Regions from separate parts of the Homo sapiens genome. Here region 2 is linked to region 1. Evidence: promoter capture Hi-C in 16 types of primary human blood cells and fetal thymus (Javierre and others, 2016). All regions are on one chromosome and are shown on one strand. Each heading gives the region's core, a stretch centred on a gene start or on the middle of the fragment in contact. The rest is flanking DNA. Distances are from core to core; before and after follow the strand shown. Region 1 holds the start of CHRNB2 (cholinergic receptor nicotinic beta 2 subunit). Region 2 overlaps KRTCAP2 (keratinocyte associated protein 2).

Region 1 (2,740 bases), core at 115-2,614:
TGGCTTCCCCAGCAAATACCTATGACTCAAGGGAGGTTTAGCAGGGCAGTGAAGGTGAACAGTTATTTGTCCCAGTTATTTGTGTCCCACCACACACATCCTTTCTCCTGCCGATTGAGGAGAAAGTGTATGTGTGGTGGGACACAAATAACTGTTCCCGTTCACCATTTACATGTGCAAATGACATTATGTGCCTCACGTAATGACATGTGACTGTGGTCACGATGCCATCCTCCCCTCTCCCTAAAGGCACTGGGTTGGAGTGGAATAGCTGGGCTGCCTAAGCTGTGGGTCAGGCATATATGTAGCCCCAAGTTTCACACACACAGCAGCCCACCCCTAGAGGTGGCCTGTAGGTGTGGAAAGCTCATTCAGTTGTGCATTCCCTTTGTACCTGCCCCTCCCCGGCACACTGCATCCCCCTCTGCAACTCTGCACGAACACACCCCTCCCCATCCCCTCAGAGAGTTCCTTCCTAGTCCTCAGCCTGGCAGAGCTTCTTCCCTTCCAAGCCTCCTGTCCCACCCTACAGGAGGGTTGAAAAGTCCGTTCCGTTTTCTCCCCTTCTCTGCCCCTGAGGGGTGACGAGAATCTGGAGCCCAATGTGGGGGATGGGAAACGATGGGGAGCCCGGGGAGGGGTGCTGGTCCAGGTACCTTTCTTGAGATAATGTTTCACAAAAAGTCAGATGGCATCTTAGCGCCCTCAGAGCCGGCCTCCTGCCACCCCAGGACGCCTGGGGAGATCCCCTGCCTCCTTGCTCTCTGTGCCTGCACCACCCCTACCACCGCTGGCCAGGTTTCCATCTCTTTCTTGCTTCACTTACTCCTTCGAGTATGTCTCGTTCCCAGTCCAGCCTCCCAGGTGCTCTCTGCAGTCCCGGGGGGCTCTCCCCTAACCTCCAGCAGACTCCCCCACCTCTAGGGAATCCCTTCTTCCACCTTCCGGCCTAGCAGGGGTGAGTCAGAGGGCGGCGAGTCTTGGGCCGTTGGCTGGGGTAGGAGAACCTGGCCAGTGCCCGTCTTTCCCTTACCTGAGCACAGCCGGAGGAGGCCGAAGCCAAGGAGCAGCGCCACGGGGCCGCAGCGCCGGGCCATGCCGCGGGCATAGCTCGCTGCCTCGCCTACACCGGCTGGAGCGCGCCGCCGGGGGGAGGGCCGCGGGTGGGGCGCTGTCCGTGGTGCTGAAGCCGCGCCCGCCTGGAGCTGGGTCCAGGTGGTGCCGGCCGCCGCGGTGGTTCCTGGGCCTCAGGGAGCCGGCTGCGAGGAGAAACCAGCTTCTTGCCTATCCTGGTATGAGCAGGCGGAGGCTTTTCCGGCTGCTCTTCCAGGGAATACAATTGGGACGGTGAGGGGGAGGAGTCTGCGCCCCGGAGGCGGAAACGCTGGGTCCCAGGAAAAAAAAGGGGGGTCCCCGGCTGGGATAGTCTTCGATTGGTTCTGCCGTGGTAGGGTGTGCGTGAGGTGGAAGAAGGGCTGTTCCTCCACGGCACGGTGGAGGAGTTCTGAAGTCCTAAAGTTGGGGCAGGACCTGCAGCATGGTCGGAGAAGGGGCAAGAGGCCCGGCGGGAAGAAGCAGCAAGAGTAAGACAAGTAGGTCAGGGCCTGCTTAGTACTGAGGGCCAGACGGCCAGAACGAGCGTCGGGAGACAGGAGGAGTGTCCGGGGTTTTCGCCCTCCTTTTTTCTCTTACCAAACCCAAATGGTCCTGCTCCCCAGGTAGGCTGAGGATACAGCAGAGAAAATGTGTTTAGCCCCTTAAAGAGATAGGGGGCTGTGGGTTTGCTATTTTTAAGAAAGCAAACGGCTTTGGAGTCTAAAAGGCTAAGCTTCCTGCCCTCCCACTGAGGGTCTACCTGAGGAGGTCTAGACTTGCCTGCAAAGAAGGTAGACTTGAGGGTAATAGTGGAAAGACAAGTAGCCCCTATTCATCGGCCTTCCTCACCCCCTTCTCTTGACTCCAGCTGTTGGCTTCTGTGTGACTAGGGAGATCAGAGACCACTCACAGAGGCCTGATCAAGAGAGAAGCTAACACAAAGGAGACCAAAGATGAGAACCCTGAACTCTTAGCCCCTTTTTTTCCTTCAGTGGGTTCGTTGTCACTTTCAACCAAAAGATTCCTGACTAAAGCAGACTTAGCATACAGCAAGGCTCTGTCCTGTTTTGTCCCTGCTTACTTCAACCTCATCTGGGTCACTCCACCCCCAGCTCCACATTCCAACTATTGGCAAGGTCTTCAGGATCCTTGAACATCTTATCCGTCCCATCATCCCCCACACTTCAGGGACTTAAATGCATGGTTCTCTTGGGCTCTTTTATAACCCATGTTCCCCTCATCACCTTCTACTTAACTTTGAGCATTTGGCAGGAATGTCAATTCCTTAAGGAAGCTGCGCCTGACCAAGAACTAGATCAGATACTTTGTTATATGTTTCCAGAGCATGTCCAATGAATAAATGAATCCACCTGAGGCAGTGGCTGCCTCTCTAGATTATGAATCAACACAGTGCCTGGCATATTATTATAAGGGCTCAACAGGTAAGGAAAAGGGCTAGTACTGGACTGACACTTTTTAATGTGTAGGGAAAATTTCTCTCTAAAAGCTCAGCTAGGGACCAGGAGAGGTGACTTAAGCCCGTAATCTCAGCACTTTCAAAGGCTGAGGCAGAAGGATCACTTGAGCCCAGGCGTTTGAAACCAGCCTGGGCAACATAATGAGATCACGTGTGTACAAAAAGTTT
Region 2 (2,992 bases), core at 39-2,538, 600 kb before region 1:
CTGGGTGGGATGGCACACGCCTGTAATCCTAGCACTTTGGGAGGTGTAGGCTGGCAGATAGCTTGGGCCCAGGAATTCAAGACCAGCTTGGGCAACATAGAGAGACCCTGTCTCTCCAAAAAAATACAAAAATTAGCCGGGCATGGTGGTACGCACCTATAGTCCCAGGTACTCGGGAAGCTGAGGTGGGATGATCGCTTGAGCCCAGGAGATCAAGGCTGCAGTGAGCTGAAACTGCACCACTGCACTCCAGCCTGGGCGACAGAGTGAGATTCTGCCTCAAAAATAAAAAAAAATAATAAAAAAAGAAAAGATGCCATTGTGGTGGGGCAAAGTTCTTGGCCCACTTTGCCTTCTCTGCCCTCTCCACCTGGGCAGGTGGGGCCCTGTTTGTCTTTGCTTTTGTCCTCTCACCTTCTCTCCCATCATATTCCAGGTAACCTAAAATCCTTTCCTGCCCCCATGAAGAAGTAGATCCAAGCACTCTGCCCTCCAACCTGTGTCCAGGGAGCAAGGCCTTCAACTTCCACCACTGGTCACCCAGCTTAATGAATTGACTCTCATTGTCTGGCTTCTTTTGGAAAGGGTTTAACTGGGTTCCCCAAATGGGAACACACCTTGCCCTTCAGACTCTGTTGTCCATCACCTTTCCTTTTTCCTTTTATGGGAGGAAAGCCAGGGTAGGGAAGTTATGTGAGATATGGGGCAGAGCTGGTAAAAAAAAGCATACATCTACATCCATGTTCTTTTTTTTTTTTTTTTTTTTTGGAGACGGGGTCTCACTCTGTTGCCCAGGCTGGAGTGCAGTGGTGCGATCACAGTTCACTGCAACTTTGAACTTCCTGGCTCAAGGGTTCCTCCAACTTCAGCCTCCTGAATAGCTGGGACTACAGGCATGTGTACCACTGTACTACCTGGCTAAATTTTTTTTAATTCAATTTTTTTTTTTTTTAAGAGATGGGTCTCACTTTGTTGTTCAGGCTGGTCTCAAACTCCTGGGCTCAAGTGATCTGCCCACCTCAGCCTCCCGAAGTGCTGGGATTCCAGGTGCAAGCCACCACACTCAACCTCCTACCTCCATGTTCTGGGTATCATTAAGGTAATCAGAATCCTCCTGCTGTAGTCACGCTTACCCTTCTAAGCAGGTTCCCCAGGATTCAGAGAGCCCCGGATTTCTCCTGGACTCCATGTGCAGATGCCTAGTATTTCCATTCTGACCGTTGCCCTCCTTGTTCTTCTTGCCTCCCTAGTTCTCCTGTGCCTCCTGTTGGCTCTCTTTGCATCTGGCCTCATCCACCGAGTCTGTGTCACCACCTGGTATGTTCTTGACAGCTGGGTAAGGGGTGTAGCATTCCGTTTTTTGGCATTGGATCTTACTGTGATGGTGCCAGAGTTTTTCCTTCCACACCTACCTCTCTCTCTGTTCTCCCTCCCCGTTTTCCTAAACTTGAACTTGGATTCTTTCCTTGATGCTAGTGTCTTCCCTAGGAGGCACCAGGCTGGCAGATGCCCACTGGTGCCATGACCTTTCTGTCTTCACCATATAGCTTCATCTTCTCCATGGTTGGTCTGTACTACATCAACAAGATCTCCTCCACCCTGTACCAGGCAGCAGCTCCAGTCCTCACACCAGCCAAGGTCACAGGCAAGAGCAAGAAGAGAAACTGACCCTGAATGTTCAATAAAGTTGATTCTTTGTAGCTCTGTGAGTTGTGATATGTTGTGGGTGTCATCTACCAGTATCCAGCTTAGATGTACAGAATGTTAAGACATTTGGGCACCTTCTGTTTTCAGACCTTGGGAATAGTGAGGCTTTCCTTCCTCCCACATTAATTTTTACCAGTTATCTGTTGAATACTGTCAGTGCCACTGGAGTGGCATATACTTGTGTGAGTCTCATCATGGAAGAAAAGTACATGAATGTTCTGCAGTCGTGTTCTTTGGGGAAAGGGGTAAAGGCTGCAATGCAGGAAGTCCTGTCCGTCAGTACCAGAAGGGATCTTGGAGCAAAAGAGTAAAGGAAGGAAAGGTCCCGTATACCTACACTGTTTCACGGGGTTCCACGTGGTATCTTTGCCACTCCAGCTCCCTGCCTTAAGCAAATCAGCCCCCTGCTGCAAGTGCATAGGTGGGACTTCTCTCCTGATGCTGTCCCTGGGACCTATCTGTTCTACTTCAGCATGAACATATGGCTGTGTTTAGAAAGACTCCCCAGGTGATCAACTGCTCCTAGCCTGTTTGTTCTGGTGCTTTCATTTTTTCCCCATCTTGTAGCCAAGACAATGGGAACTTCCTAAATTGTAGCGAAGTATATAAAACAATAGGAGCAAGGACACCAACCTCTGAGCCCACCTTGATGGAAATGCAGGTGGCTACTTGCACCCTGCCCTGTCTGTGCTCTGTCATGAGGAACAACTCTATGCAGAGTGCCCGTCCTAGGTGCCGTCCCTCGTGCTGAATGGCGTGTGTTTTAGGGTATACACCTCATCTTGGTCAGCTTTGTTTTTTCCAGAGCCTGATAATGGACAATAAAGACTGGTGGGTTGGGCCAGCCATGGTGGCTCAAGCCAGTAATCCCAGCACTTTGGGAGGCTGAGGTGGGTGGATCACTTGAGGTCAGGAGTTTGAGACTAGCCTGGCCAACATGGGGAACCCCATCTCTATGAAAAATGCAAAAATTAGCCAGGTGTGGTGGTGTGTGCCTGTAGTCCCAGCTACTTGGGAGGCTGAGGCACGATAATCGCTTGAACCCAGGAGGTGGAGGTTGCAGTGGGTGGAGATTGCGCCACTGCACTCCAACCTGAACGACAGTGAAACTCTGTCTCAAAAAAAAAAAAGGTGGGTTAGTTGAATGAAATAACCTGCCCTGACAAACAAAATCCTGTCCATAGGTGCCTGAGTTAGGGAATAAGACTCAGTGAAGATGAAGAAGTGAGTAGAGGAGTTTTGGTCAGGGATTAGAGGCCACCCCACTCCACTCCCATCTTTGGCT

What was found. The method cuts DNA at HindIII sites, captures the fragments that hold promoters and counts their contacts. A CHiCAGO score of 5 or more calls a contact.
Region 2: a fragment that was not itself captured here is called in contact with the fragment with the promoter of CHRNB2 in region 1 in 1 of 17 cell types (total B cells); the score reaches 5.4 in total B cells.

The regions. Positions count from the first base shown.
Region 1 is chr1:154,566,402-154,569,141 of GRCh38, reverse strand. CHRNB2 (cholinergic receptor nicotinic beta 2 subunit) reads right to left here and starts at 1,364. Exons shown (of 6, transcript NM_000748.3): 1 at 1,034-1,364. The coding sequence starts at 1,097. LOC107985206 (a long non-coding RNA gene) reads left to right here and starts at 1,425. Exons shown (of 2, transcript XR_001738238.3): 1 at 1,425-1,718. RefSeq lists a silencer at 1,064-1,193. The HindIII fragment of the contact is 2,216 bases long and covers 1-1,830 here.
Region 2 is chr1:155,168,116-155,171,107 of GRCh38, reverse strand. KRTCAP2 (keratinocyte associated protein 2) reads left to right here. Exons shown (of 5, transcript NM_173852.4): 4 at 1,251-1,317; 5 at 1,548-1,700. The coding sequence ends at 1,668. Among named protein-coding and RNA genes, the nearest start is that of KRTCAP2, 3.7 kb to the left of the region's middle. The HindIII fragment of the contact is 6,676 bases long and covers 1-2,992 here.